Regions from separate parts of the Homo sapiens genome. Here region 1 is linked to region 2. Evidence: promoter capture Hi-C in 16 types of primary human blood cells and fetal thymus (Javierre and others, 2016). All regions are on one chromosome and are shown on one strand. The core of a region is centred on a gene start or on the middle of the fragment in contact, and the rest is flanking DNA. Distances in the headings are between cores, read along the strand shown. Region 1 holds the start of OR4C5 (olfactory receptor family 4 subfamily C member 5). Region 2 holds the start of OR4S1 (olfactory receptor family 4 subfamily S member 1).

Region 1 (4,032 bases), core at 912-3,411, 60 kb after region 2:
TCAATGGTCTGCAGCTGGGCTACAATTCTTTATTCAAATTTGAATGTGCAGAATTTCTGCCTTAATTACTCACATGTCACTAATTCTCTTTTTTTCATTTTTTGAGATGGAGTCTCACTGTGTTGCCCAGCCTGGAGTGTAGTGGCACAATCTTGGTTCACCGCATCCTCTGCTCCCCGGGTTCAAGTGATTTTCGTGCCTCAGCCTCCAGAGTAGCTGGGATTACAGGCATGGCCACCACGCCCAGCTAATTTTTCTATTTTTAGTAGAGATGGGATATTACCATGTTTGCCAGGCTGGCCTCAAACTCCTGGCCTCTAGTGATCTGCCTGCCTCTGCCTCCCAAAGTGTTGGCATTACAGGCATGAGCCACCACACCCAGCCACCAATTCTCTTTTGGGTCAGCTACTTTGTTTCTATTAGCTAAGGCACAAATCCATCCAATAAAAGCCATTTTTGAGGTGAAGTGGTGTATAGGATATTTTCGACAGAAAAAAAGTGCTTCACAAAATATCTTCTACCTGAGAAATAATGTCCAAGATTGTTCTATGATTGTACCTGGATGAATTTTCTACACCTCTTTGGCTGTAGACAGAGAAAATAATTTATTCTGGAGACAGCCAGATTATACTGTAAATGATCACCCCTGGAGTTGTGAACACAACAGCATTAATTTTGGATGAGTGCTGCTTTAACGACTCTCATTCCTCAAAACCCAATCGTTTCTCACCTATCTCTCTCTCTCACAATAATAGTTCTACTTCGATTTTATTAGTTGGGATTAAAACTATGCATTTTCAACAAAAGATTTAGCCATTAGGTCTTTTTGTTTATTTTAATTATTTGGCCTGTTAGTTATATACTCTATACCGAAGCTTTGCAGATAATTATTCTACTAAACACATAAACTCATGGGTTTTCCATACACTGTAACATTTTTATGTTGACTAGCAATGTCCCCCTGATTAATAATTTGTAAATGTGAAGAAGTTTCAAATTGGCAGAAACATTAGTCATCATTTAATCAGATATTGATCTTTTATGAAAAGGCATCATTAAAGATTCCAGAAAATGAGGGGAATAAAATATACTTAAACTCACTATTCTGACCTCAAGACCTTTACCCTTTTCATTAGTCATACCTGTTGTTAAAATATGAGTAGGTTCTGTGTTTATCTTCTCTAATCACACAAATTGTTACCCCAGATTATTTGGCTCCAGAGCTGCTTCATGGCATTTTTCACCTCTGTGTTTCTGAGGGTGTAGATTAAAGGGTTTAACATGGGTGTTACCACAGTATAAAACACAGACACAGCTTTATCAATAGGGAAGGTGATCATGGGTCGAAGGTACACCAATATACAGGGAACAAAGAATAGGACGACTACAGTGATATGGAAGGCGCAGGTAGAGAGAGCCTTCCGCTGTGAGCAGAGGATTAGGACGTAAGAGGTAATAAGAATAGAAAAAATGAGCATACACATCAGCCCACTGTTGGCGGCAACAAAGAGTCCAAAGACGTGAGTGTCAGTGCAGGAGAGTTTTAGCAGAGGGAAAAGGTCACAGATGAAATGGTCAATGACATTGGGGCCACAGAAGGGCAGCCAGACTATTAAAAGCATTTGAATCAGAGCGTGAAGAAATCCCCCGACCCATGCCATGGCCACCAGGAGGCCACATACCTGCCTGTTCATTGTGATCAGGTAGTACAGGGGCTTGCAGATGGCCACATAGCAGTCATAGGCCATCACCACGAGCAGAATGATCTCAACTCCCCCAAAGAAATGTTCTACAAAGAGCTGGGTCATGCACCCACTGAAGGAAATAGTTTTCTTTTCAGTGAGTAAGTCAAATATCATTTTGGGGGCCATGGTAGAAGAGGAGCAGCCATCTATGAAGGAAAAGAAAGACAGAAAAAAATACACGGGGGAGTCCAGGGCTGGGCTGGTGGTGATTGTCACCACAATGATTAGGTTGTCTACCATGGTGAGAAAGTAGATGAGTGTAAACACAGCAAACAAGAGTTTCTGTGCCTCTGCGTTCTGTGTCAGGCCAAGCAAGATGAATTCCGTTATGTTGTTCACTTGCTCGAAATCCAGTTTGGTATTTGGATAATTGATTTTTCTGTGAATAGCACAAGGATTGCAATTTGACACATACATTTTGAACAATAAAATAATTTTGGTCAGGATTATTTTCTGTAACACTGATGGAATCCCTAAATCTATAAACCCAAGACTAAGTTGAGCTATGTTATTCATGACATAATGAACACAGATACCTCTTCTCTCTCATACAGAGACACACACAGACACAGAAAAACACATACACACATTCATTTATGTACACAAACATGATTTTATGATGTTGACATGTCAGGCATTTTTCCTATGATTGTACATGGATGGATATTCTCTCAATCACCCTTACAGCATTTTTTTCCCCATAGAAAAACAGCAGTAAAAAGAGGAGGAGCAGAGGCTTGAATTCCTGTCAATTTCCTAGTTTCTTTTTTTTTTCGTTTTTTTTTTTTTTTTAACCACTCATGTTCATGAGGCTACGGTGCAGAGTTTGTTATTCTGGTTATTTTTAACTTGTTTCAGGGTAACTATAAAACATCAGGTGAGTTCACTTTGAAATTAAGGATGATGCCACCACATTTCAGAATCAACTGAACTGAGTGAATGTTTGAGGCTGCAGTAAGATACTCCATGGCAGTTAGATTTGAGAATTTATGCCACATCCAAACAGAATTGTCTAAGAATACAATCAAACACTTCTGGAAGCATATCCTGGAAGAGGATAAAACAGCATGATGCAAGGCAGCATTCCCCAGATGTATCTGAAACTTTAGAATTCACTTGGAGAACTGTCATGTTTAGAATTCAGGGCATTTTGCAAATCAAAACCCAATTTAAGGATGACTATGAAAAATTATATGGATCTGTTTAGAAAACATAATTTTAAGGTGAGGGAAAAAAAGCACCATAATTTATTGGACAGAGTGTTTTTTAGAATCAGATGCCTAATTTTTACATTTTATCTTCACTGACTATTAGCCACATGATATTGTGTACAGATCTTAGTCTCATTGTGCCTAAACTTTTTCATATATAAAATGGGAAAAATAACAAATGGAATGGAGGAACTAAAGAATATCATGATTAAATATATCAAGCTTTGTATCCTAAAGGTAAACCTATAGCTTACCATGTACTCCACATCTTGATAAAGAACACAAGTAAACAAAATTTTGCATATAATTATTTTTATCTTTAAGTTATTTATCATTGTAATATTAAGAGAGAAAATAAATGAACTCAGTACTCAACTCAAGGTAAATAACAAGCAATTATATTCAGAAAAAAAGGTGTAACACAGAAAGACATCAGGCAATAAAAAATTAGACTTGATAACTAAATTAAAAAGCTTTTTGATATTTTAAAAATACAAAGAAAACTGAAGAATAGAAATGAGCTCAATAAGAAACAAATATGGTAATACCACCAAAGGATATTATTTGTGAATAATATTTAGAAAGGTATTATGTGTAGCTCATAAAAGATTTTAAAATAACTAGATAGGTGTTTTTCAAAACGAAATAAGTCTCTTCTTAATGGAATCATCAAAAAAAGAAAAAAAAGAACCAAAGAAAAAGAGAAAAAAGAATAGCATGTATTAAAGACTTCAGGTAAAACATAGATCTTTTCAAAACCAAAAAAAAAATCAATATATATTTCATCTGTAGCTAAGAAAGGATATTTTAAAATAAAAATATAATGGTATAAGATACAAAACAAAACTGATGAGCTCAGCTACATAAAGGTATGGAACACCTTGGAAAAATAATTGCAACAAGTATGACAACTGTTATTATAAAAGCAGTTAACAAATTAAAATGTTTACTCACACTATTAAGGTGTGAATTAAGGTGTAAATAAGGGTAAAACTAAGAAAAGATAATTCTCAGAAAAAACATTAGACATCTAAAAAGTCCTCTTTCATAAGTTACCAAAGAAATGCAATTTTAAA
Region 2 (3,924 bases), core at 1,235-3,734:
CATTGAGATGATAATATAGTTTTGGTCCTCAATTCTCTTAATGTAGTATTTGCATATATTGAACCATCCTTGTATCTCAGAGATAAATCCCACTTGATCAAAGCAGATTATCCTTTTAATGTGTTGTTGAATTTGGTTTGCTAGGATTTTATTAAGGAATTTTGCATCTATGTTCATCAGGGATATTGGCCTGTAGTCTTCTTTTCTATTAGTTTCCTAGGGTGGCTTTGGTATTAGGGTAATGTTGTCCTCATAAAATGAGTTTGGAAATATTCCCTCCTCTTCATTTTGTTTTGGAAGAGTTTGAGAAGGATTGGCATTAGTTCTTTAAATGTTTGGTAGAGTTTAGTAGTAATCCGTTCCTGGGATTTTCTTTGATGGAAAACTTTTATTATTTGTTCATTCTCTTTGTTCATTATTGGTTTGGTCATATATTCTATTTCTTCATAATTCAGTCTTGTTAGATTGTATGTGGCCAGGAATTTATCTGTTTCTTTTGGGTTATTCAATTTGTAAGTCTATAATTGTTCATAGTAGTCTTTTGTGATTCTTCATATTTCTGTGGTATGAGTTGTAATGTCTCTTCTTTCATTTCTCATTTTATTTATAAGTCTTCTCTCTTTTTTATTTGATTTTTAATGTATTTTCAATATCTGTGTTAAATTTCTCATTTTGGTTTTTTACTATGTTCCTGATTTTTTAAAAATGATTTCTCTGTATTTTCCTTTACTTCATGAAGCTTTAAAAGCAATTATGTTGAATTATTTTTCAGCCTGTTTACATACCTCCATTTCTTTGGGGTCAGCAACTTGGAAATTATTGTGTTCTTTTGGTGGTATGATTTCTTGGTGTTTCATTGTTTCTTGTTACCCTCTTATTGATGTCTGCACATTTGGTGGAGTAGTCATCTCTTGCAAATTTCATTGGCTAATTTCAGTGTGGAAAGATTTTCTCTTATGGGGCATGATGGTGCTTTGCAATCCTTGTGGCCCAGACTGACACAAGCATATAATGGGATGGACTGAGTGGGTGGGATGGATTGGTTTTGGCACCAGTGGGATGTGGCTTTATAGTCTTTGTGTGGCCCTGTTAGCTGACGTCAATGTTGACCCAGATTTGAGGGATCCTCAGTGGCCAAATTCTTGGATGTTTGCAGTGACAGCAAGGGTTTTCAGGCTCGTTGCTGGTAGTGGCTGCTAAGGTCTTCCTTATTTAATTTTCTCCCACTGGGGAAGTTGTGGCTTAGGGAACCATTTGACATGGTTCTGGTATGTGTGCTTCCTCTTGATGTTGGTGGCACAGGTGTATTTTGGGTGGCACCTATTGTGCAGCCATGTAACTGAGGCTTGGGTCATGGGCACACCTGAAGGAACTATGGTTCTGGGATCTGGAATGATAATGACACTGGTGCTTAGGGTGAAGACACTCCTGCCACCACATAGGTAACAGTGCTAGAGGTGTGAATGCTTTGAAGCAGCCAGGGAGCCAAGAATGGGAGCATAGATATATGTAGAGTTACAATGGCTCTGGAGTTGGGGTAGGGACTAACTTTCTGTGGAGGGTGAACTGGTGCCCAAAGTGTGGGCATGCCCAGAGAGACCTTGACTCCAGGGCCCAGAGCTTGCTCTAGTGATGGCCCAGTGTCTGATACATGGGTGGGTGCAGTGCAGTCCCAGACCCTGGGTCTGAGTGTGAGCTCTCAAGGGGCAGCTGCAGTTTGGGGTTTGCATGGTGTTGGGGAGGTGGCAGCTCCTTTTCCAAAGTAGCTCAATAGCATCTGCTTCTTGCAGGTGGAGGCAGTACAGTTGTGTCTCCCTCTCTAGGGTTTCCTGGTGGGAATGGCTCTTGGTTATCTCAGTGGCATAAATGCTAGCGTTCTCTGCAAAGCAGGGATCTTGATGACTACCACCACATGGCTGATACTAATTGCCTCAACCTTTCCTGTTTGTTCCTAACCATCTCCTGGCATCTCAAGTATGCAGATATCACTAGAAATCCTTCGTGTGCGGCTATTCTCCATGTTTTTGCTCCTCTGTATTGCTGCAGATTCTTTAATGGGCCCTTGAACCCTCGCAGACCTATTTTGGTTTGTGGATAGCTGTCTCTCTCTCGCTCTAGAGATATATATATAAGATATACATATTTATATATTATATATTTAAGATATATATATTTATATATTATAGATTTATATATATTATTATATATAATATAAATTATATATTATATATATAATATATATTATAATATATATTATATATTATATATATATAATATATATTATTATATATAATATATAATTTATATATATATATAATAATATATTATATATATTATATATGTATTTTTTGTGATGGGGATGAAGGCTAGTATCTTTCTTACTCCATAATCTTGGTGGTATCTCAGAAAACTTTCTTATGTCTCATAATTTATGTCTTTGCAGAGCCAGCCAGCCACTTTGTCGGTCATCAGGGCAGATAATCCATGGGTGCCAAGAACAATGTGACTGAGTTTGTTTTATTTGGCCTTTTTGAGAGCAGAGAGATGCAGCATACATGCTTTGTGGTATTCTTCCTCTTTCATGTGCTCACTGTCCTGGGGAACCTTCTGGTCATCATCACCATCAATGCTAGAAAGACCCTGAAGTCTCCCATGTATTTCTTCCTGAGCCAGTTGTCTTTTGCTGACATATGTTATCCATCCACTACCATACCCAAGATGATTGCTGACACTTTTGTGGAGCATAAGATCATCTCCTTCAATGGCTGCATGACCCAGCTCTTTTCTGCCCACTTCTTTGGTGGCACTGAGATCTTCCTCCTTACAGCCATGGCCTATGACCGCTATGTGGCCATCTGTAGGCCCCTGCACTACACAGCCATCATGGATTGCCGGAAGTGTGGCCTGCTAGCGGGGGCCTCCTGGTTAGCTGGCTTCCTGCATTCCATCCTGCAGACCCTCCTCACGGTTCAGCTGCCTTTTTGTGGGCCCAATGAGATAGACAACTTCTTCTGTGATGTTCATCCCCTGCTCAAGTTGGCCTGTGCAGACACCTACATGGTAGGTCTCATCGTGGTGGCCAACAGCGGTATGATTTCTTTAGCATCCTTTTTTATCCTTATCATTTCCTATGTTATCATCTTACTGAACCTAAGAAGCCAGTCATCTGAGGACCGGCGTAAGGCTGTCTCCACATGTGGCTCACACGTAATCACTGTCCTTTTGGTTCTCATGCCCCCCATGTTCATGTACATTCGTCCCTCCACCACCCTGGCTGCTGACAAACTTATCATCCTCTTTAACATTGTGATGCCACCTTTGCTGAACCCTTTGATCTATACACTAAGGAACAACGATGTGAAAAATGCCATGAGGAAGCTGTTTAGGGTCAAGAGGAGCTTAGGGGAGAAGTGACATTCCAGAGAATCTCAATCCAGCTAGGAAATTGGGAGACTTTCCATCTTGTAGCATCTAACACAGCCTTTTTATTTCCAGTCTGATGTTTGCAATGGCAATTATCCTCCTAGCTCTTGTTGTTATAATAATTCCACATATTCTTTCAATCCTTTATTCATTAAATATTTATTGGATGTTTACAGTGAGTGAGAATACAAATAAAAGTAAGATATAATCTTTCCCTCAAGGAGAGTACAGTCCAGGATGCTTTTAGTGCGATATTTAAGAGCTCATTCAGGAAACGTGTGAGGGCCTGTGAATGAGGGAGTGTCTTGGAAGTCCAGATATCTCATTGATAAATGAATAAAATCACTACATAATTCCTTTGTGTTGGCTAACACAGTGCTCAATGGAATTCATTCTTTTCTTTTAAGAGTAAAGAGCCACTTTACTCTTACCCTTTCATGCTCTCAGCAGGCAGATAAATAAATAAATAAGTAAATAAATAATGTGGAGAGGTCAAGGGAT

Evidence for each region. Contacts are between HindIII fragments. The CHiCAGO score rates a contact against its expected background, and 5 or more counts as called.
Region 1: the fragment with the promoter of OR4C5 here is called in contact with the fragment with the promoter of OR4S1 in region 2 in 1 of 17 cell types (monocytes); the score reaches 6.0 in monocytes.

What each region holds. Positions count from the first base shown.
Region 1 is chr11:48,364,304-48,368,335 of GRCh38, forward strand. It overlaps OR4C5 (olfactory receptor family 4 subfamily C member 5), which reads right to left and starts at 2,162. Exons shown (of 1, transcript NM_001348223.2): 1 at 1,182-2,162. The coding sequence starts at 2,162. The coding sequence ends at 1,182. The HindIII fragment of the contact is 2,303 bases long and covers 874-3,176 here.
Region 2 is chr11:48,303,739-48,307,662 of GRCh38, forward strand. It overlaps OR4S1 (olfactory receptor family 4 subfamily S member 1), which reads left to right and starts at 2,485. Exons shown (of 1, transcript NM_001004725.1): 1 at 2,485-3,414. The coding sequence starts at 2,485. The coding sequence ends at 3,414. The HindIII fragment of the contact is 12,544 bases long and covers 738-3,924 here.